Linked DNA regions of Homo sapiens: all the other regions are linked to region 3. Evidence: promoter capture Hi-C in 16 types of primary human blood cells and fetal thymus (Javierre and others, 2016). All regions are on one chromosome and are shown on one strand. The core of a region is centred on a gene start or on the middle of the fragment in contact, and the rest is flanking DNA. Distances in the headings are between cores, read along the strand shown.

Region 1 (4,581 bases), core at 107-2,606, 540 kb after region 3:
ATATTTTAGAATCTAAAATTGATAAGAGAATAAGAAGTCTTTAGTATTTTCTAACCATATAAATTAGGAAATCATATACATTAGAATTATTCAAGCAGCAGAAGAAAACTTCATTTAAACTCAACAGTTATACATAATTTAGAATCGGGACATTTCCATTGTAGTTTATTTACTGTTTATAGCTTTTGCTTTATTAAATAATTATAGGATTTTATATAAAAGCATTATATATGCCAATTGTATGGTTCTTAGATAAAAGATACAGGAATTTTAATAAGTGATCTGACTTTCTGCTAAATGCCTAAAACATGATTATGTAGGAAAGCTTTTCCGTTAGATTTTTTTTTTAATGTCATTTCAACCCAGCTGATCATAAGAATTGGGTCAGACTGCCAGCAACTTAGGTTTGTGAAGGGAATGGAACAGCTTTTCCATGGACAAAGAGAAATGAAATCACTTTCAATGAAAGAAAGATGCCTCATTATAGTCACCAACAGCAGTTATTGACAGCTACACTTCCTATTAACAAGGAGCATTTAACTAAGAGTTTGGCTGTTGGATCTTTGGACTTGATCTAATTTGCTAGCATTAATTAGTTTCTTTTGAGCACAGACACTTGGTGCTCACAGCTATAGATTTGCAGGGCTAATTAGGATAGAAAATTGAACAGAATTGGGTAAGGCATTAACCTTCAACCATTACCAGCTGGGACACTGATAAAGCCCACAGAGTCCAAATGTTACCTATTGATGTGAGGAGTACCCTAATGAATATCAATTTCAGCCAGGTTGCTATATTCTTACTAGTTCTGTCTTCATTTTAATTTTTTAACCAGCTTACATGATACCCTCTTTATCTATACACCATTGGTTTTTACTTAATGTACACTGAATTAGTCTGAGTTGCATATTTCACCTAATGTTTAAATACAGTTAAAATTTGTCTTAAGCAATAGATAACATTTAGAATGTTTCATCATTATATACCCTTATACTTCTAAAATTTAATTTTAATCTGGAATTACATGATTCTAATTCTACAGTGAATTTGTATAAGTTCCAGTAACTATGCCATTTCAGTATAATGAAAACTATAACGTAATACAAAAAAATTTTAGCTTTTGGGTGACAAATAGTGTTCATATTATTTAAATGGTGTCAACTCTTGAATCTTGGTCTTTATAAAATATATTTTTAATAATGTAAAATAAACACAAAAGTATATGGTTTTTTTTTTTCCTTTTTCTTTGAAATGGAGTCTCACTATGTTGTGCAGACTGGTCACCAACTCCTGGGCTCAAACAAGTCTCCCACCTTGGCCTCCCAAAGTGCTGGGATTGCAGGCGTGGACTACTGCGCTCAACCTATGTTTCTTTTTGAAGAGAAGAATAGTGCTTAGCACCTTTCCTTTTTGAACTTTGATTTGATTACAAAGGAGAATCCTGATCTTGCTATTGGGGAAACTTTGACAAGATTATAAACTCTGTTGATATCAAAAGAAAAATTAATTGATTTAAATATAAAATTTAATTTTATAGTATTCTTTCTTTGCTAGTGATATTGTTGGTGGTGAATAAAGCCGCTAAAATAAATGACTGAAGTATACTGGTAGATATTAACACAGTGAACACTGAGTACATTGGGAATGGAACTGAAGGAAAACCCTAGAATGGCCAAATCGCTTTCTTACTTCCTCCCACTTTCCTCACCTTCCAAAAGCCAAAACAGTAACCTCCCACCAACTGTAATGATGAAATCATTGCTTTTTCTTGGATCTAGGAGTTAGCACCTTGTGTCTTAGGGAGATGGTTTGACAAACTCTGGATTTCAACTTTTGTCTTTTTCTAGCTGTTTGACTTCACTAATTAAATGATTTATGTTTTCTGTTAGTAATATTTAAAAAATATTGTTTGCCGTATATAGGTAAAGTGTGCATACTAGTATTAATACATTTTTCTCCATAAGAGGAAGAGTCACTGAATTGTATAGTGTTTTGTAAAAATTCCTCATTATATTTCTTTGCTTTTTTTGAAGTGCATAGTTGACATTTGCTATAAAGTCTCTATATTGGATAATGACGTTTGCTTTAGAAATAATAACAGCCCTTTCTCTTTTTTCCTTTTGCTATCACAGGTAAAGACAGAAAAGTATTTTGTCATCAGGGATGGGCTGGAACTTTCTTTAACCTAGCTGTATTCTCTTACTGACTCCTTTCATCCCTTGGGCCCTCTTTTCCCTTATTTTAATGTTTCTTTTGTATTTATGTTGCAGTCTTTATGATCTGTTGTCCAATAAGTGGGATATAGCTCTGAAAGAATTACATAAAGTACAAGGAAGCATGGGTTATTTGTTTGTTTGAAACATCACAGAGCTGTAGGTAAATAACAAAGAAGCTTGATAAAATGCGCTCTTCTGTCAATCACACAGAACTGAAGTATGTTGTATTTTGTGAAATTCCAAAGATAAGTGAATGAACAAAAAACAATCAAGTCAAGAATGCTTAGAATGTTCTTTAGGAAGTTTACAGGCAGGTAATTATCAGAACAGCATTGAAATAGGTTGCAGGGCTGCAGACTATATACATGGTCAAAGTAATCACTCTTCTGTCCAACTGTGTTACTTGAAGCTGCCAAAAATCTGCCTTTTTATTTGTTGTTTGAGGTGTACCACTCTTATTACATGTATTTTTGTCATTAACCAGTGCACCAGTATTAACTAATGCTGAAGTGGATATGCAACACATCTTGAGACTGGTTTTGATATACTAAAAGGAAAATAATCACCGCATATGATGAATAGCTGTTATATATGAGTATATTATACAGTCTAAGAAATACAAGTAGATATAAGGCACAGTTTCTGCACTTTGGACTTACACTGAACTATCTCATGGGTTCCCAATCACCATTGGATTGGTTGATTCACTAGGAAGACTGACAGGACTCAGCATATAATCCTATTCATAGCTAAAGGTTATTACAGCAAAAAGATACAAAGCAAAATCAACAAAGGGAAAAGGCATATGGGAAAGTTCAGAAGAAACCGTGGCACAAGCTCCATGAGTCTTCTCCTGGTAGAGTCACTCAGGGTGTGCTTAATTTCTCCAGCACTGTATTGTGACAACACATGTGAAATGTTGTCTACCAGGGAGGCTCATTAGAGACTCAGTCCCCAGAATTTTTATTGAGAATTTGTTCTCAATAAAACATTTGGGAACCCTCTGCCTAACATGTACCAAAATTTCAGATTCCCAGAAGGAAAGCAGGTGTTCAGCATAAATCATATTGTTTGTACAAACAGTTTGGGCACAGTGAGCCACTCTTATCAATTACGAAATGGGGACACTCCCAAGATCCGAGTTCTCCGATGCCACCTAAGGGCCAATCTTGCAAGCAAGCCTTTTAAGGATAGCAGTGTCATGCCTGCTATGTTAACTCTTTTCTGCACATGGACATAATAAAAGTTACTTAGCAGTAACTATTTGTGTATGCCTATCATGCCTGGTGTTATGCCAATGGAATCATGAGTAATAGGCTTATATCAATCATAAATACAGCTGAATTATTTTAAAAATAACTGAACAAAGTATATAGCAGTCCTTCTTATTTGTGGTTTCACTTTCCATGGTTTCAATTACCTGTGGTCAACTGAGGTTCTAGTTTTATCATTTCATATCATCATCATAAGAAGGGTTAGTATAATAAGATATTTATAGTACAATAAGATATTTTGAGAGAGACCATATTCACTTAACTTTTATTGTTACAAACATTCTATTTTATTAGTTGTTGTTAATCTCATACTATGCCTAATTTATAAATCAAATTTTATCAGGGGTATGTATGTAGAGGAAATAAACATAGTATACATAGGATTTGGTAGTATCTGCAGTGTCAGGCATCCACTAGGGGGCTTAGAACGTATCCCCCATGCATAACAGGGGACTACTGTATAATGGTTATTACTTACTGATCCAGTGGTTCTCAATTGTATGTGTTAGCTCATATGCTCATTATCAGACTCAATAGCTTATTATGATTATCTTGTTTCTGAAAACAGGACAGTTTTGCAATAAAATTATATGTAGTTGGACATAAATACCCTTGAATAAAATGGCTAGTTTTCTTCTCACAGAGGAAGATGCAGTATATTTTGGTTTTAGAAATAAATGAAACTTTACTTTAAGTTCTGGGATACATGTGCAGGATGTGCAGGTTTGTTACATAGGTAAACTTGTGCCATGGTGGTTTGCTGCACCTATCAACCCATCAACCCATTACCTAGGTTTCTTTTTTTTTTTTTCTTTGAAACCGAGTCTCTCTCTGTTGCCTAAGCTGGAGGGTAGTGGCGCAATCTCAGCTCACTGCAACCACTGCCTCCTGGGTTCAAGTGATTCCCCTGCCTCAGCCTCCCAAGTAACTGGGACTACAGGCGCACGCCATGACGCCTCGCTAATGTTTGTATTTTTAGTAGAGATGGGGTTTCGCCATGTTGGCCAGTCTGGTCTCAAACTCCTGACCTCAGGTGATCTGCCTGCCTTGGCCTCCCAAGTCCTGCCATTGCAGGTGTGAGCCACTACACC
Region 2 (5,004 bases), core at 1,321-3,820, 660 kb after region 3:
TTTGGTATATATATATATATATATATTTGGTATATATATATATATATATATTTGGTATATATATATATATATATTTGGTGTATATATATATATATATATATATATATATACAGAAAAGTAAAACAATTATTAATTTAAGTCTTTACTGAATTCTCTTGAAAGGATGGCAGATGGGGAAGTACTTCATTTAATAGAAAATAAAATTCCTTACTCATTTGTCCTCCTCAAAGTTCCAAACTATGCAGGAATTGCTTGCCTCCCTAAAAACTTCACCAGTAGCCTATTGTTGACTGAAACCCTTAACAATAACATAAACAGTTAATTAACACATACTTTGTATGTTATATCTGTTGTATACTGTATTCTTACAATAAACCTAGAAAAAAGAAAATGTTACCAAGAAAATCATAAGAGAAAATATATTTACTATTTATTAAGTGGAACTGGATCATCATGAAGGTCTTCGTCCTTACTGTCTTTATGTTGAGTAGGCTGAGGGTTGGTTTTGCTGTTTCAGGGATGATGAAGGTGGAAGAAAGTCTGCATGTAAGTGGACCCATGCAGTTCAAACCTATGTTATTCAAGGGTCAACTGCGTATGTGAATGTTAGAACACCACCAGCCTGGGTGACACAGTGAGACTATGTCTTTACTAAAAATAAAATAAATTAGATGAGCATGGTGGCACACGGCTGTACTCCTAGCTAGTCAGGAGGCTGAGTGGGAGGATTGCATGAGTCCAGGAGTTCGAGGCTGCAGTGAGCTATGATCCCACCACTGCACCCAGGCCTGGGCAACAGAGAGAACCCTTATCTCAAAAACAAAATTTTGGAACAATAAAGTGGCTGTATTAATTTGCTAGGACTTCTGTAACAAAGTACAACAGATTGGCTGGCTTAAAGAACAGAAATTTGGCCAGGCGTGGTGGTTCACACCTCTAATCCCAGCAATAGGAGGCCAAGGTGGGCGGATCACCTGAGGTCAGGAGTTCGAGACCATCCAGACCAACATGGAGAAGCCCCATCTCTACTAAAAATACAAAATTAGCTGGGTGTGTTGGTGCATGCCTGTAATCCCATCTACTCGGGAGGCTGAGGCGGGAGAATCGCTTGAACCTGGGAGGTGGAGGTTGCAGTGAGCTGAGATTGCACTAGTGCATTCCAGCCTGGGCAAGAAGAGTCAAACTGCATCTCAAAAAAAAAAAAAAAAAAAGAGAAATTTATTTTCTCACAATTCTGGAAGCTAGAAGCCTGAGATCAAGTCTGAGATCAACCCTGTTGACAGGATGGGTCCCTTCTGAGAGCTATGAGGGAAGGATCTGTTTCAGACCTCTCTTTTTGGCTTGTAGATGGCCATCTTCTCCCTGTCCTCACATAGTCTTTCCTCTGTATGTGTCTGTGTCCAAATTTCCTCTTCTTCCAAGGACACTAGACATATTGGATTAAGGCTCACCCTAATTACCTCATTAAATTTAATTACCTCTTTAAAGACCCTAACTCCAAGTAGAGTAATATTCTGAGTTACTGGAGATTAGAACTTTAACATGTGAATTTTTTTGGAGAGGAGGGCAAACAATTCAGCTGATAATAGTGGTTTTCTTGCTTTTGTTTTGAATACTTACTATTGTGCCAAAGACAATTTATAGAATCCTTTTATTGGTTATTTTCTCCATTTTCACAAACTCTAAAGCTTAATCTAGTTTAATAAAAGAGAAAAAAGGTACATATAATATTTAAGATACTGAGTCTTTGATAGGAAAGCTGGATCCTTCTGTAAAGTGCCCTTAAGTCTTTCAAAATCCTGTCCTAATGAGTAAAATTAAGGAAATTTCAGGGTACATAGATATTATATTAATTGTATGGTAAAACAAATGTTAGTTTCAGTCTTTCCACATTAAGAAGTAATAGTTGAAGCATTTTCAACGATGACGGGCTATACTTGTTTTGCCTCATAATAATAAATTTATAATAATGAAATCACATGGAATTGACACTAGCAGTATTTGTTAACAATTCTGAATTAAGGTTTTGCCAAGGTTTTGATCACTCAACCCTGTACTATTGAAATATTAATCAGGGCAGACTTAGCTTTCTAGTGCAAATACCTTGAAGGAGAGGGTAATTCCTAAATATACAGAGGTAACTTGACTGTCTATGTTGCATCCTGTGTCATCTCCCCAATATTAATACTCAATAAGGTGTTTAATTTATATAAGACATCTAAAGCAGAACCACAGTTCCTTTTGGGAAAATGGCAAATGTTTAGGATGAAAGAACCTATGCAAATAGTACCAAAGCATTACCACATAGTAGCTAATACACTCTATTAAATGTTACATATTGGAAAAATAAAACATGCAAGTCTTAAATATGACACAAAGCAAAGGTTAATGCTTCTTGGATTACATTTCTTGTTATCCGTGGGCTTATCATGGATATAAATAGTTAACTATTTTATTTGTATTATGTGACTGACAATGTCACTGAAAACCTGCACAATGCAGTTTTAGCTATGGATTCAATTAGCCTTTATGAAGGTTTTACCTGTGTAAAATGGGCATTTGGTGTGTTTAACCTATTAGGGTATATTTTTTTTTCTACTTTATAAGTAAAAAAAAAAATCTAGAAGATAAGAGGTGTGTGTTAAAGCTGAGTGGGCTGGATTTTGGGTGGCCTTTTTAAGTCAAGACATTCTAAATATTGGGATGTTAGGTGATTAATGAATTCTGAACGTGGACCTCTTCAATTCTAAAATTTTCATTAAAAGCCTCCCTCACATGAACCTAAACCAAAGTACTCTTTTTGCCACTTTTCTGAAAGTTCAGGGGAAAAAAGTCAGTTCACACTTTTTATAATGAATGAAGAACATTTGCCTATTTTATAAAAATGTGACTCAATGCTTACTTTTAAAACTGGATTTTTAAAAAATTGGATGGTATGGGTACCCTGTAATTTTATAATTATTCATCTAAACTTAAAATTTAATATTTCTTCCTTTTAGAAAAAATCAATATGCTCCATACCACCATATACACAGACCATGTAGTGAATTTCCTGGGCTCTCCCACAGCTTTAGAGGTATATTACTAGAGCCCTAGCCATTATCATTTTCCTCCATATTTTAAATTTGGGTAATACATTTCTGCTGGTATTAATAGTAGAATATACTATAATGTGGATTATCTCTACTTCTGTGTTTATTTATTTGTTACTAGACCCAACCACAGTCTTCTTTCCTTGCTTTCATCTTTCTCTACCCATGGAATATGTTATATGTATTTATACACTTTGTATTAATATGTTAGAAATCACAAATCTGTTTTGTACTTTTTATGTTATTAAATACTGCTTGTCAAACTTTTGCTTTTATACTAAATAAAATTAGTCTTACTAGAAAATTTTTTAAAAATATTCTAAAAACAAGAAAAGCAACCTTACGGCTTCCCTGCTTTCCTGAAGCTTTTCTACTGAGTACATTCACTTCAGACTATGTATTCTGGGTATTAATTCATGTGTCTGTATACTGAAAATATTTCATTCTGGTTACTTGCCTTTCAATTTACTTTATGGTTTTAATTTTTCAGTGTACCTTTAGTTACACAGAAGATTTAATCTTGACACATTCAAGTTGACCAATCTTTCTTTCTTTTTTTTTTTTTTTTGAGACGGTGTCTCACTCTGTCACCCAGGCTGGAGTGCAGTGGGACCATGTTGGCTCACTGCAACCTCCATCTCCTGGGTTCAAGCAATTCTTCCGCCTCAGCCTCCTGAGTAAGCTGGGATTACAGGCACCCATTTCCACGGCCGGCTAATTTTTTTATATTTTTAGTAGAGACGGGGTTTTACCATGTTGGCCAGGCTGGTCTCGAACTCCTGACCTCAAGTGATCCACCCGCCTTGGCCTCCCAAAGTGTTGGGATTACAGGCGTGAGCCACCGTGCCCGGCCAGCCAATCTTTCTTTTATGACTTTTGTGTTTTACATACATTTCTACTTCAATATTATACATATTTTATACTGTTTTGTCAGTCTAGAATTTATGTTTATAAGTGGTGCTAGGTTAAGATTAAACTTTATTTTTTATTGTAAGAATCACAAATAGATGTTGAATTTCTCATGCTTTTGGGGGACATATTAAGATGATCATATGGTTTTCCTTCTTTAATCCATAATGTGGCATGTCGTGAAAACAAGACAAGTAGTCAAGACCTGCACATATCAGACCTGTTGAAACAGTATTTAATTTACTGGAGAAAGCTCAAAGGGACAGGGGTCAATAGCTCAAAGTGTGAGTCTCTGTGACACCATCCCACTCTGAAGCAGACAGTGCATAGCAATTTTTAAAGGCCATATGAGAAGTTCCATTAGAGGGATCTTGACTGTTGGCCTGTATAGCTTTTAATTAATAATTAGAGAAATACCACCTCATCCCCTGGCATGATCAGGTGCCAGAATACAGTATGATGTGGAAGAACTTTTATTCCAGCACTATTCTGAAAGCATGGATATTCAAGGTTGACGAGATGTCCCAGCCCAACTGCATCCAGGCCTTATGGTTACAGCTTTAAGATAGTGCAAGATAAGAGTAGGATTGACCATATCAGTACACATGATTAGACTAGCACCAGCTCCTTCTCTGGCATGATAAGGGTTGAAGGTGACAGTGGCATCCAAACATTGTGGTTGACCAAAATTGATTGCTGTAGGCTCTGGGCCATAGTTAGTTTCTATGGAGCTTTGTAGGACATCATATCTTTGGGAGGCTAGCCTGCAGGGGACCATTCTTGGATTAATTGATTCTTACTCTTATTACCTATTTGGCCATGGTGAATTTTTTCTCTTAATATTCTAACAGATTTGATTTACTGTTTTAGTTAGGATTTTAAAAATCTACTTTCCTAAGTGAGATTAACGTAACCTTTTATTTTCTTGTTTCTTACACTCTCTTTATCTGGCTTTTAAGCTTTTTTTTTTTTGAGTTAAATATATACATTGTATCCTTTAGCA
Region 3 (4,463 bases), core at 1,722-4,221:
CACTCTACCTGGGTGTTGTTGTTATTTGCGCCTTTGTTATTGGTGAGTTTTAATTTCCCGAATGAAATCTCCTGTCTCATCCAGTGGGAACCAGTATTAGGAGACTCTGGGTGAACATACATTTTGTTGCCTAAGAGAAAATGAAACAAAACACAAAACCCAAGCATATAGGGCTGTTTACAAATGGAGAAAGCGGAGGGATGTCTCTTAGCTATGAGCAAGATATAAGAGCTAGACTTACAGTTGGTCTCCCAGTAAAAGTTGCTTAAAGAGGCCAGTGGAGACCAGCAGGACTACATCCATATCCCTCCCAGGCCCCTGTGCTTCCAACCTTCCTTGCACTAGGGACTCCCCTGAATGGCATTTCAGAATTTAGAAACGGAGCTAACAAGAGATGACTCTTGAAGGTCAATTTGGGGCCTTCTAAAGCTGTAAGGGCAACATCCGATGGAAGACAGTTGGATATTTATGGGTGAACTAAACTTTGGCTGGGCTTTCTCAAGTGAACATTAGAATCCCAGGAGCCCTTCCCACCTGGAGAGCTTATGACTACTGATTTGTTAAACGTAGGGATTGGGGGGTGGGGTGATGTCTTAGTTAAAGGTTCTAAATATCTACATATTGGCAGACAAGAAATCTGACTTAGCAAACTCTCCTCTCCGTCAAACAAGCAACTCAAAGACACTCATACTAACACCTCTAGGCCTCAGAATGGAAGGGGAAAAAAAAAGTGCTACATTTAAATGTGAGTTGTGTGAGTCGAGGGTTACGATTTCTTCCCGCCCGTTCCTCCCCGGCCCGAGCCTCTTCTCTGCTCACCCTGCATGTTATTGTCGGCTTTGCCACAGGTCACCCATTTGCCCCCCTGGAAGCGCCAGTGGTTGGGGTCCGCCAGCACCACCTCTACGAACACATTGTAGTGGGCAGTGGGATTGAGTCCGTTTATGTTGAAGCTCAAGAAAGGAAACATGCGCCTGTGCAAGGGAATAGAATCAGAAAAATCGATTTTAATTGGGATGTCCTAGAACAGGCCCAGGCCCCAGCGGGTTCCCCAGACACCTGGGATAGGGTCGGAACACATTTAAAAGTTTGCAGTGAACAGAATGCTGGTAGATCAAGTGGTCTGAAACTATGTAAAATATTTTTGAGTTGGCAACTCTTGGAACCTTTCCGTCTTTTCAAAAAAAAAAAAAAAAAAAAAAAAAAAAAAAAAAAAAAAAGCTTGCCCCAACATCGGTATATTCCAAATTCGCGCGTGCTTCCGAAGGCTCATATTCTCGGCCCTTTCAGACGCTCTTAAAATTTTTCTCCTAGAATGTTAAAAACTACTAATTTTTAAATGCACCATTTTGAAAAGTACCAGAGAACAATATTAGGTTATTCTTGTTAAAAATATATATTAAAACTTTAGGCTAAAAGTCCCCTTTGAGTGCCCCTCTCTCAGCACCCACCCCTCCCTTTCCCCAGAAGTAGCCAGTGTTAGCAGTTGGATGTATATCAGAACTTTCTCGCGCACCGAACCCGAGCCAGGTCTGGCTCCAGGGCAGATCTAACCACCTACTCCGACCGAGCTTCCGAGGCCGGCGCTCTAGCCTTCATGCCCACCTCCCGGAGACGCCCCGTGGAGACCCTGGCGCCTAAAACTGCGGGAGCCCATCTACTGCGCTCAGGTGGCCAGCTCTTGAGCCTTCCCTATCCGTGGCTCCTTGCCGGCATGCAGGCATGCACAAGCATACCGCCGAGCAGGAGGATCTAACGAATCCAGCTTGTGGACATGCCCTAATTTCCATTTCCGCCTCCTCCAGGTCTGTTCAGGTGAGGATGATGGGAGGGAAAAGCGGTGTACAGCCGTAACATTGGCACCCTGCAAGAGCCGCCGGGGCACTGACACAGAGGGACACCGCATTGGAGATGCGGTGTCTACGGAGATTTATTGCGCGCGGTGAAACACTCTAAGCACCGCGCGGAACAACTGGGTTCAGCTCCCTCATCCCGGACCTTCCCCAGGACCACACGTCACCCTTTATCCCCGAACCCAGGGGCCCCTCCACGCTGCGCTCACCTGCCCTGTTTCGTAATGATCATCTCAGTTTGGTGGCGGTGGAATTTGAGCCACAGAGGCCGGTTGCACAGGTAGACGTGGGCACGGAAGCCAGAACCTGGAACCCCCAGGCCCCCCAGTCCTCCGCAAGATCCCGCCGCTGCGGCTCCAGGGTACGGCCCGTAGAGCGGAGCCCCCTGGCTGTACTGATAGGTGCCCGGGCCGCCGCCCCCGCCGCTGCTACCGCCCGCGCCACTGCCCGCACCGGCTCCTGGGCCGAACTGCGCCCTCCCGGGTGGGCACACAGCCGCGGGGAAGCCGCCGGGGGGCAGCATGGAGCCGTAGGGGTAGCGCGCCCCGTTAGGAGCCGGGTACACAGGTCCGTGGGGCGCCCCAGCCGCCGCCTGGTACGGGAAGAGTGAGCAGGGCGCAGCCAGCTCCGACCCCTGAGGACCGGGGGACTGGAGGTAGTACCGCTCGGAGCTCAGGCTGTCCATGGAGTAGCGCGCAGTGGCCGCAGCCGCGGCGGCGGCGGCGGCGGCGGCTGCAGCGGCGGAGGGCAGCTCCTCCTCCCCGCAGGGGGAGCCCTTGCGGCCGTCCGGGGGCCCCGGCTTGGCCACTGCCGCAGCGCTGGCAAATGCGTCCCCGGCGTCGGTGTCACTAAGCATGGCCGCGGGGGCCCCTGCGCTGGCGGCTGCGGGCTCCCCGCTCACCGCCTCGCAGGAGAGACTGCCGGAAAACTTCTTGGACGCTTTGTCTAAGTCCAACTTCTGAGGAGAGGGGGCCGCGCTGGGGAGGTGGCCAGCGCTCCCGCCGCTGCCGCCTCGCGCACTCTCCAGCGGGTAGAAGTGCGCGCCAGGCAGGTTCACTGAGCTCACCAAGAGCTGCTCCCCTAACTGCATGCTTTGCAAAGCGCAGACGGCAGCTGGCTGCTTCCTCTCCTCCGGTGGCCTTATTATAAAGGCAGGATGGGGGAGCCAGCGCCCTCTTCCGAGGGGAAGGTAACTTCCCCTTCCTCCCGCGCCGGGGCTACCCACCTGCCGACTCGCGGGCCGCTACTGCGCGTACTGGCGCGCCCTGAATCCAGCGTCCTTTCCGGAAGGAAAGCGCCGTGAGTTGGAAAGCAGGAGGTGGAAACTAACCCAGAAGCCCTCTCCTTTTCCTTCCTCGTACCTCTTGCTCCTCAGGACCCCCACCCTCCTCCCAGGCTCACACGCTGGAAGAAGGTGACTTAGATCTTTGTCCCCATCCACCCACTAGCCCGCGCCTTTCTGCCCTTTTTCAATTGCCAAAGCATCGGTCAAGTTGACCACTTGGAAACTTATGGGCTGTCACTAGCTGCTTTATATATTTGCGGCCAGGGAGGGGCTTCCCGGCCTCACAGCCCGGAGACCCTCCTATTGGCTGGTGGAGGTGACACTAATTCAATTAGGCATTTACTAATTGGATCAAGTCGCCTGTGACTTTCTTTTCCTTTTTTTTTTTTTTTTTTTTTTTTTTTTTTTGAGACTGCGTCCCGCTGTGATAATCAATCCTGGTGTCTGTAATTTCGCCGGAATTTAGGGGGACAAAGTTTGGGGTCTCCATAGCGGTGTCCACCCTTGGCGCATTAGTCATCTCAGCCCTCCGCTGGAGGAATGAGATGGCTGGAGCAGATTTTAGAGGCCAGAGAGAGAAAGACTCTTCAAGCTGATAGCTTGCAGGGAAGCGCCCGTCCCGGAGGCTGGGGAAACTGGGGCAAGTTGGAGACAGGCCCAAGGAAGTCTCTTTCCTCGTCGGAAGCTGTAACTTCAAAGCACACCTTCCTCTTGTCGAAGGCAAACTCCCTGGCCTTCAACGCACAGAACCACTTTTTGTTTGTTCCCATCCTTTTACCCAGTGGGAAAGGTTTGTAGAGAGGAAACTCGCGCTAAGCTTTTGGGATTCCGGGGACGGCCAGAGCACATTGCCATCCTGGAGGACCTAAGCTCTCAGCTTCTAAATCAGAAGCTTGGACAGGGTACTGGGGACAGGACAAGAGTGAAACTAAGCGAGCTAACACCAACTTCATACTCACGCCAACACAACTGCTTTCGGGGAGACAGTCACTTTTATTCCCCACAATTTAAAATCCTTTCTGCTCAGTTTTCCTGATCCCGGATTCCGTCCCTTCACCACCATCTTCAGTTAGGCCTGACACCAAGAAACAAAGCTTCCCTAACAGCCCCACAGTTAGGATTCCCTGCGCCTCTGCTCTGCGGCAAATACAGAAGGTAGAATAATTAGTGAAATAATCAGTTTGATATTGAATTAAACTCCAGCTGCTTGTTTCTTCGCTGCGTTTCCTCAGATAGATTCAAGAGCGGGGCCGTCATATTTTATCGTTTCATTATTACGGAAGCGGGGGGCACGTTTCGTTGCGGATAAGGAGAAGCCTGAATAT
Region 4 (5,087 bases), core at 1,054-3,553, 540 kb before region 3:
TCTGAGGTCCACCCTGGTTGGCTAACTTACAACCTGAGACAGGAAATGCTTTGGCCGCTCTCTGGCAAAAGATATATGCTACTCAGAAATTTTTCCAATGCCTAAGGCTAGTATCGGGCTTCTAAGTCCAGCCTCAGCTCTGCCACACTCAACCCCTGATACCAAATCCAGGAGCTCTTTCTAAGGCTCAAAACTTTATTGCAAAACCAACTCAACTTCTTCCATGCCTACCTCTTTTCTTCGTCCCAAACCACAAAACCCTTCTTCCTCTAACTATCCTCAACTGAAGTCATTAGAAATTTACACAGAAGTAAAAACCCAATTCAAGGCCTTTTCCTTCTTATGACCTTTTTTATTCTAAGTAAATCATCTTCTACCCTATCCTGAAGACCACAGCTGGCATCTGCAACCTTTTCAGGACTTTACACCCAAGATGTGTCAACATTACCAAGGTTGAAAAAAGATGAAGGAGAATTTTTGAATTGAGAAAACTTTTTATTCTGTCGATGCAATTAAGATGCTGGAATTCAAATATCCCTAAAACTAGTAAAACTTTAACAAAGGCTTTGTGTCTCTTAAGAACAGGCATGGATAAAACATCAGAGGAAAACATTTTTCTTTGAACAAATGAAGAGTCAGGAGAAGCTGGAGTCCCCGCTGAAAAAGGCAATTCGAGACTTAAGGACGCTGGACTTGCAATCAAAACCCAAGAACCAATTGGGTCATAAATCAATAGTCACTTGTAACTGCCAAAATTTCATCCACGGGTAATTGACTGTTTGCATAAATTCTGATAAAGGGGAATTTACAATCTGAGAGAGATGCTTTTTCAGACTCTGTATGCATAAAAATATGATAATATAGATGGATAGTTTGGGTTTAAAATTTGTATTTCTAGGCCAGGCATGGTGGCTCACTCCTGCAATTCCAGCACTTTGGGAGGCTGAGGCAGGTGGATCACGAGGTCAGGAGATCAAGATCATCCTGGCTAACACAGTGAAACCCTGTCTCTACTAAAAAATACAAAAAAATTAGCCGGGCATGGTGGTGGGCGCCTGTAGTCCCAGCTACTCGGGAGGCTGAAGGAGGAGAATGGCATGATCCCAGGAGGCGGAGCTTGCAGTGAGCCGAGATTGTGCCACTGCACTCCAGCCTGGGTGACAGAGCAAGACTCTTGTCTCAAAAAAAAAAATATATATATATTTCTATAACAATCCCTTGCAGCAGTTTTTGCTTCAAAAAAAAATTGATATAATTTTTGACCTTGCCATAAACCATATGCCACACATTTTCCCTACTGTGATTTCTGGAGTTTTTCACTGTGAGTATTTGAGTATCCAACTCTTTATAAAATTGTTCCTTGAAGAACTGGGGGCACTTTAGTCCATTTTAAATCCTTTAGTGCTTTGCACAATGCCTTACACATAGCAAAGGCTCAATAAATAGTTGAGCCATTAAGTTGTCCTCAGAAGACACATCCAGCAAGTACATTAACCTATTAAAGGGATTTAGGCAAGAAAAAAGGCAAAGTTTTTGGAGACAGAATTTGGCTGCTATAATCTTTTTCACTTTCTAATTACTAAGATTTTTCAAGGAGTAGGAGAGGGAGTTAACTAGTTTTTTTGGCATCTGCATGCATCTATCCTAGGAATGGATAGACACATTCCGGATATCAATACGGCGGCAAGGAGAATACAACGCAAATCACACAATAAAATTATCACTGATATGGAAATCAGCACCATTATAGAAGATGCTTCCTGTCACCACGCTAGTATTGGCACAATTATGTTTAGCTCGGTTTTGCGCATTATAATGTAATATTTTTATGTGTGCAGCAGATCATAATACATTTTCAGTTGAATAGCAATTCTAACAGTAACAGACTGACATTACCCAAATTAACTGCTACAGTAGGAAAATTAAGGGCATCTATTTTATTAAAATCAGTGCAATTTTTAAAATTGCCAGAAAGTTTTAGGAGAGAAAGAAAATCAAGAAATAAATATAAAGCATAACAACAGCTATATCCTATAGATGCTTTACTTTAGAACTCTAAAAAATGCACTATTTCTTTGTGTTCTGAAATATTCATATTCTATTAGGTATATTTTTACCCAGTTTCTTCCATCTGTTTTGTTAATAAACTGTACCCTTAAATATCTCAATTTAGTGCTACCAGGTGCTAGAAATTCATCCAGCTGAGGTGATCTTTTATCAGTGGCACCGCATTCTATGCTTTTCATGGATGATTGCACAAAGAAAATTCAAACTAGGAGACAGGCCATTGACTGCATACTATTGTAAATAAACTTAGTCCCTACATTTTAAGGTATATTTTTAAAAATCAGCCAGTGTGGTCAGATGATTAAGGAACCTTGTGGACTAGACCATAGCTGAGTGAACTGCTCACTGTAGTGGTGAGATAGGAACCTTTTCTCCAGGCCTCCCTATGGAAGACTTGGCTTTGCCACATCAGAGAGGTGGGCTGATGGAATAAGCCTGGAGCCTGGTCCCACCCCCTACCCAGTGGTAGATGGAAATCTTTAATCTTTGATCCTGAAAGTTAGTTTTTGTTTGTTTTTTAGAAATAGGTTCTCACTATGTTGCCCAGGCTGTTCTTGAACCTCCGGGTTTAAGGGATCATCCTGCCTCGGTCTTCTGAGTAGCTGGAAATACAGAGGCACACCACTGTGTCCAGCTTTCCCAAAATGGTTTGGATGGTAACATCGTCTATTTTCATCAGGGAATCTTGAAGAATTTCCCTTCTCCCATTCTCTACATACAGTTAAGAGAGCAATAGTTAAATCTAAACCAGAAAAACTGGTGTTTTGGGGCCCTAAAAATAACTAATTTATATGGATTATATAATAAAGAAAATATTCTCTTTAGGTTGGATCTTATTTATTTTGAACTTATTAAATATTTACACAAAGCTAAAAATTTTACTGTCATGACATAGTTATTATCTCATTATTATACTATCTTAATTAGAACGTCTTAAAAGCACTATTACATATTAATGAGCTGTGATTAAATTAAATAAATTAGGGAATAAATTGGTCATTACAATTCAATCTAAAACTCCAGTATCAAATTTATTATGGTTAAAAATGTTTCACTGTTATCCCATAACTAACCTAGTACTGTATCAGAAATGAGTGGATTTTCTATCACTTTTAACTCAAATACAGGTTTTCTAGAAGGAATAATACTAACAAAGAGGAGAAGGAAAACAATGTCATAATCTGAAATTATCATTTGTTAAGAATACAGAAGATCTGGTCCATCACAACAATACTGACCACCATGTTTTTCCAAGACAGCAGACTAACATGCCAATAGAACTAAATGTATATACCAATATATTTAAAAGCATTTCAAATGAGGCCAGGATCAGGTAATTCTATTTAACATTTAAAAGAAACAATGGGGGCTGGGCGTGGTGGTTCACACCTGTAATCCTAGCACTTCAGGAGGCTGAGGCAGACAGATCACCTGAGGTCAGGAGTTTGAGACCAGTCTGGCCAACAAGGTGAAACCTGGTCTCTACTAAAAATACAAAAATTAGCCAGACATGGTGGCAGGCACCTGTAATCCCAGGTACTCGCAAGGCTGAAGCACGAGAATTGCTTAAACCTGGGAGGCGGAGGTTGCAGTGAGCTGAGATCATACTACTGCACTCCAGCCTGGGCAACAGAGCAAGACTCTGTCTCAAGAAAAAAAAGAAAAAAAGAAAGAAACAATGGGCCAGGCATGGTGGCTCATGCCTTTAATCCCAGCACTTTGGGAGGCCAAAAGTGGACCGATCATTTGAGGTCAGGAGTTTGAGACCAGCCTGGCCAAATAGTGAAACCCCATCTCTACTAAAAATATAAAAATTAGACAGGCATGGTGGTGCGTGCCTATAATCTCAGCTATTGAGGAGGCGAAGGCAGGAGAATCACTTGAACATGGGAGGTGGAGGTTGCAGTGAGCCAAGATCACACCACTGCACTCCATCCTGGGTGACAGAGTGAGACTGTATCTCAAAAAAGAAAGACAAGGGAAGGGAAGGGGAGGGGAGGGGAGGGGAAGGGAGGGGAAGGGAAGGGAAGGGAAGGAACAATGTACAGAGAACAATCAAGTGGGCAAGTTTTAAGAAATTTTTTGTTTCTCAAAAAAACAATGTCATTGAAATTTACCAATGCTTAAGGAATTAAAGAGTATGGAATTAGAAATGAGTGGTTATCAACAGGAATGAAACACCAAATTAGAACCTCATTGACTGTTTCATTTTTAACACAGAGTTACATAAGGAAAGGTCTAGTTCTTGTTAAACTGCACATTTTGCACATGTTGTCAAAATTCCAAACTGATTAATTGCCAGTAGAGAAAGAATTAAAAGTCAAGAAAAAGAGTCACCATTGTCTTTTGCTTGGCCCACTGCAATCTCTTCTTAACCAATTTCCCTGATTTCATTCTTGGCTCTCAGTGGTTTATTCCTACTCAGCGGCCACCTATATCATTTTAAAGCCTAGTGGTGCCACCTTGGCTTGCTCAGAACTCATATTACTCAAGTGCATGCCAGGGACTATGGCACCTGCATGTCCAACTGTCTCTCCCTGCTTCACCGCACGCTGGACACACAGGCCTCCTTGCTGTTCCCCGAGCTTGGCAGGCTCACTCCTACCTCAGGATCTTTGGTCATGCTACTCCTTCTGCTACCAATGTTGTGCCTTCAGATATTTGCAGAGGTTATCCCTTTAATGTACAGTTGACCCTTGAACAACATGGGAGTGAGGGGCACCAATACTCCATGCAGTCAAAAATCTATGTATAACTTTTAACTTTCTAAAAACTTATCTACTAATAGCCTACTGCTTACTAGAAGCTTACCAATAACATAAACAATTAATACATACTTGATATGTCATATGGTAAATATAGTTTATCTTCCTTGTGATTTTCTTAATAACATTTTCTTTCCTCTAGCTTGTTATTAAGAAAATCACAAAGAAGAGAAACTATATTTACTATTCATTAAGTGGAAGTGGATCATCATAAAGGTCTTCATCTTTGTCATCTTCACATTGGGTAGGCTGAAG
Region 5 (4,863 bases), core at 1,127-3,626, 580 kb after region 3:
AATCAACTAAAAGCTGGTAGAAAATGAGAATTATTAACACTCCTTCAATTAATTCACTTATTCAGCTATTTGTTCGATAAATATATATGAATATTTACAGTTATTCATTTATATACAAATGCACAAATATTTATTGAACAAATATAAGCTAAGCAAGTAAGCTTTGCTGAATGATTATTTTTTACCTTAGTCTTTATTTTCTTAAATATTTTATTTTGATTAGGTATTTTAATAGGCTTAAAAAGGATCAGTGGATAAGAAAATATGTTCCAAGGAAAGATATGGAAGATAACTAAGCCTAGAATGATCATAAGTTATAAATCATAAAACAGTAGCCAAATCATCATCAGCCACCTGTTTGCATCTCACCTGAAGTATAAGGAACTAAAAATGTCTTTAGCTATGTTGTCCAACATGGTCACCATTAGACATACATGGCTATTTTAATTAAAATGAAAAATTTAGTTATGCAGTCGCATTAGCCACATTCAGCTTGGGCAACATAGTGAGACCCTGTCTCTTAAAAAAATACATCTTATTTAACCTAATATATCAAAAATAATATCTTTTTAACATGCAGCCAATATAAAAATTTTTAATGAGATATTTTATATTCCTTTTGTCACTGGATTTTTTTTTTCATTTTCTGCCTATGTTAGGTAGAATAATAGTCCCCAAAGATGTCTCAGTCATAATCCCTGAAACCTGTGAATATGGATATAAGGAACTAACTGTCCTAGAGAATTGAAAATAAAAGCTATGTTTAATGCATCACACATAAGAAGTAAGGATTTTTATCTGTTCTAATCCCCTCACTGGAATTATGTGAATCTAAGGTATTTCTGGACAGTATCGCTTAAAATTTTAACATAAAAACTGTTGGGTGATTTTCACTCATCTTAGTAGACGTCTCAACAGCATTTGACAATAATGATTATTCCTTCCTTGACCCAAACTTTCCCAGAAAAGATAGTCATCTGATGGATACATTTTGTTAGTTTTTATATTTTAAAGTTGTATTCAAATAATTTATAGAAGAATGAAGACAATGACTTTAGAAAGTATAATAAGAATTTAAACATAGCAAGCCCCAATTTTTATTCCCTATTTTACTTGTTCTGAAAGTTTTATAACTTGGAATGGTTTATGTCCTTTGATTGCCACTAACTGCTTATCATGAACCTGGAACATAATCTATTTTAAAGATTCTGACTCCATATAGCTCTAATAGGTTCTAGTTTACCATTAATCTTTAAAATGTATTTTCTTTTTACTTTAGATTTGAGGGGTACATGTGCAGGTTTGTTACATGAGTATATTGTATAATGCAGTGGTTTGGGCGTCTATTGAACCGTCACCCAAACAGTGATCATAGTAACCAATAGGTAGTTTTTCAGCCGTTGTCCTTCCTCCTTCCCTCCCATTTTGGACTCCCCAGTATCTATAATTTATATCTTTTTGTCCCTGCATACCCATTGTTTAGCTCCTACTTGTAAGTGACAACATGCGGTATTTGTCTATTTCTCTGTTAATCCACTTAGGATAATGGCCTCCAGCTAAATCTATGTTGCTGCAAAGGATGTGTTTTCGTTTTTATGGCTGTGTAGTATTCTATGATATATATGTACCACATTTTCTTTCTCCATTCCACTGTTGATGGACACTTAGGTTGATTCCATAACTTTGCTGTTGTGAGTAGTGCCGCAATAAACATACAAGGGCAAGTGTCTTTTTGGTAGAATTATTTCTTTTCCTTTGGGCAGCTATCCAGTAGTGGGATTATCCAGTTCTGTTTTTAGTTCTTTTAGAAATCTCCAAACTGCTTTCCACAGGGATTGAACTAATTTACATTCTGTTTATAAGCATTCCCTTTCTCCACATCCTCAACAACATCTCTTAGTCCTTTGTTGGATGCATAGTTTGCAAGTATTTTCTCCTTTTCTCTAGGTTGTCTGTTTACCCTGTTGATGGTTTCTTTTGCAGGGCAGAAGCTCTTTAGTTTAATTAGGTCCCAATTGTCAATCTTCTTTTTGTTTCATTTGCTTTTGAGATCTTAGTCATAAATTTTTTGCCTAGGCCAGTGTCCAGAAGAGTTTTTCATAGGAATTTTTTTTTTTTTTTTTTTTTTTTTTTTTTTAGTTTGAGGTCTTACGTTTAAGTCTTTCAGCGATCTTGAGTTAATTTTTGTATATGGTGAGAGGTAGAGATGGAGTTTCATTCTTTTGCACATGGCTAGCCAGTTTCCCCAGCACCATTTATTGAATAAAGTATCCTCTCCCCAGTGTTTATTTTTATTTACTTTGTTGAAAATCAGTTGGTTGTAGGTATGCAGCTTTATTTCCAGGTTCTCTGTTCTGTTCCATTGTTCTGTGTGCCTATTTTTGTACTGGTCCCATGCTATTTTGGTTATGATAGCCTTGTAGTATATTTTAAAGTTGGGTAATGTGATGCTTCCAGCTTTGTTCTTTTTGTTTAGGATTACTTTGGCTATTTGGGCTCTTTTTTGGTTGCATATAAATTTTAGGATAGTTTTTTCCAATTCTGTGAAAAATGACATTGGTAATTTGATAGGAATAGCATTGAATCTATAGATTGCTTTGTGCATTATGGGCATTTTAATGACATTGACACTTTCAATCCATGAGCATGGGTTGTTTTTTCATTTGTTTCATCTGTGATTTCTTTCAGCAGTATTTTGGAGTTCTCGTAGAGCTCTTTCACCTCCTTGGCCAGATGTCTACCTAGGTATTTGTGTGTGTGTGTGGCTATTGTAAATGGGATTGAGTTATTAATGTGGTTCTCAGCTTGAACGTTACTGGTGTATAGAAATGATGATTTTTGCATGTTGATTTTGTGTCCTGAAACTTTACTGATGTCATTTATCAATGCAGTAGTCTTTTAGAGGAATCTTTAGCATTTTCTAAATATATAATAATTGTTGGTGAACTACTTACATCTTTAAAATGAAGAATTTTTTTTTTTTTTTTTGAGACAGAGTCTTGCTCTTGTCACCCAGGCTGGAGTGCAGTGGCATGATCTCAGCTCACTGCAACCTCAGCCTCCTGGGTTCAAGCAATTCTCCTGCCTCAGCCTCCTGAGTAGCTGGAATTACAGGCACCTGTCACCACACATGGCTAATTTTTGTACTTTTAGTAGAGACAGGGTTTTGTCATGTGTTGGCCAGGCTGGTCTCCAATCCTGACCTCAGGTGATCCGCCCACCTCGGCCTCCCAGAGTGCTGGGATTACAGGTGTGAGCCACCATGCCCAGCCAAAATGAAATATTTTTAAAAACACCAATGACTCATAATTTTGTTGAAGTTAAGATGGCCATCTTTTTGGCTCCATAGTTTTAAAACATTTTCACTTTTAGATTTACAAATACTATTTCCTTTTAATCACCTTTTAAATATATCTGTCTTTAGCATTTGGATCAAGTACATTTCAACACACAGATATCATAAAAGATGAAAGAGTACTGCGTTGCCCTGTTTTTAGCACAATGGGATACAAGTTTTTGTTACATTATACTTCATGAAAAATCACTCCTGTTAAATGTCTAATGGGATGAGAATACTATATTTCCTTTTTGTCCTTAAAAATGTATTATTCAGGCCAAGTCAAGAGAATTGTTTGAGGCTAGGAGTTCAAGACCAGCCTGTGCAATATAGCAAGACCTTGTCTCTAGGAAAAATAAATAAAAAAAATTAGCTAGGTGTGGTGCTGCACACCTGTAGTCCTAGCTACTCGGGAGGCTGAGGTGGGAGGATCACTTGAGCCCAGAGTTCAAGGCTACAGAGAGCTATGATCTAACCAGCGCCCAGCCTGGGTGACAAGAAAAAAAGTATTATTCACGCATCAGTTCCTGATTTTGAGAAAATTCATCTGGGATACTGTCACCTGAAGACTTATAGTCAATATGATTATGTGCTTATATGATCAATTTCATCATCTTCGTTAAAGTCTAGAGTGCTGCTCTTGGTTTCTTTGCATTCTTCTAATTCATCTAATAATTGCAAAACATCTTTTAGCCAGTTTTTCCCCCCACTGTGGTAGTATATTAGTTTTCTATTGCTATTGTAACAAATTATACAAACTTAGTAGCTTTATTAAGACAATACAAATTCATTGTATCATAGTTCCGTAGTTCTCAAGTGTGACAGGTCTCACTGGGCTAAAATCAAGGTGTTAGCAGAGCTGTGTTTGTTTCTGGAGCCTCTAGGGGAAAGTCTGTTTCCTTGCCTTTTTCAGCAAAGATGCAAGTATTCTCTTTTTTCCATCTTTAAAGCCAGCAAGATAGAATCTCTCTGACTCTGCTTCCATCATCTCATCTCTTTTCTCCTGTTCTCTTCCGCATCTGTCTTTCACTTTTAAAGACCCTTGTGATTACTTTGGGCCTTCCCAGATAACCTCCCTATTTTCAACTGATTAGCAAAGTTAATTCTGTCTGCATCCTTAATTCCCATTTCCTGTGTATCTTAACATATTCATGGGTTTCAGAGATTGTGACTGGGACATCTTTGGGGACTATTATGCTACCTAACATAGGCAGAAAATGAAAAGAAAAATTCAAACCTTAACTGTATTCAGTGAAAGCTTTAAAAAAAAAAGAAAAGAAAAAGCTACTTTTATATCTTCATGAACGGTAATACAATACATTGAGCAATATAGTAAATGTGATGTAATAATGGAAGCTTTATTTCACTATTGCATCCTTCTAGGGGATTTCATCATTTTCTTTTCTTATCGTAGTTATTTTTAGCATAGTTGGAAATAACTGACAGGCCATGATGCAATAATTTCTGCTATGATGAAATAAAATGTTTGAAGATACAGGAAAAATAAGATCAATAAGTTATATATT

The links. Contacts are between HindIII fragments. The CHiCAGO score rates a contact against its expected background, and 5 or more counts as called.
Region 1: a contact is called between a fragment that was not itself captured here and the fragment with the promoter of EOMES in region 3, in 16 of 17 cell types (total CD4 T cells, naive CD8 T cells, total CD8 T cells and 13 more). The highest score is 35.3, in total CD4 T cells.
Region 2: a contact is called between a fragment that was not itself captured here and the fragment with the promoter of EOMES in region 3, in 5 of 17 cell types (total CD8 T cells, total CD4 T cells, non-activated CD4 T cells and 2 more). The highest score is 6.2, in total CD8 T cells.
Region 4: a fragment that was not itself captured here is called in contact with the fragment with the promoter of EOMES in region 3 in 1 of 17 cell types (neutrophils); the score reaches 5.4 in neutrophils.
Region 5: a fragment that was not itself captured here is called in contact with the fragment with the promoter of EOMES in region 3 in 16 of 17 cell types (total CD4 T cells, naive CD8 T cells, non-activated CD4 T cells and 13 more); the score reaches 44.8 in total CD4 T cells.

The regions. Positions count from the first base shown.
Region 1 is chr3:28,265,279-28,269,859 of GRCh38, forward strand. The region is part of intron 2 of CMC1 (C-X9-C motif containing 1); the gene reads left to right. Among named protein-coding and RNA genes, the nearest start is that of CMC1, 26 kb to the left of the region's middle. The HindIII fragment of the contact is 2,067 bases long and covers 324-2,390 here.
Region 2 is chr3:28,380,971-28,385,974 of GRCh38, forward strand. The region is part of intron 1 of ZCWPW2 (zinc finger CW-type and PWWP domain containing 2); the gene reads left to right. Among named protein-coding and RNA genes, the nearest start is that of AZI2, 35 kb to the left of the region's middle. The HindIII fragment of the contact is 1,769 bases long and covers 1,687-3,455 here.
Region 3 is chr3:27,719,352-27,723,814 of GRCh38, forward strand. EOMES (eomesodermin) reads right to left here and starts at 2,972. Exons shown (of 6, transcript NM_001278182.2): 1 at 2,063-2,972; 2 at 820-974; 3 at 9-130. The coding sequence starts at 2,943. RefSeq lists a silencer at 2,398-2,607. The HindIII fragment of the contact is 2,734 bases long and covers 1,220-3,953 here.
Region 4 is chr3:27,176,365-27,181,451 of GRCh38, forward strand. All of the region lies in intron 26 of NEK10 (NIMA related kinase 10), which reads right to left. Among named protein-coding and RNA genes, the nearest start is that of NEK10, 190 kb to the right of the region's middle. The HindIII fragment of the contact is 5,135 bases long and covers 1-4,871 here.
Region 5 is chr3:28,303,674-28,308,536 of GRCh38, forward strand. All of the region lies in intron 2 of CMC1 (C-X9-C motif containing 1), which reads left to right. Among named protein-coding and RNA genes, the nearest start is that of ZCWPW2, 43 kb to the right of the region's middle. The HindIII fragment of the contact is 4,434 bases long and covers 160-4,593 here.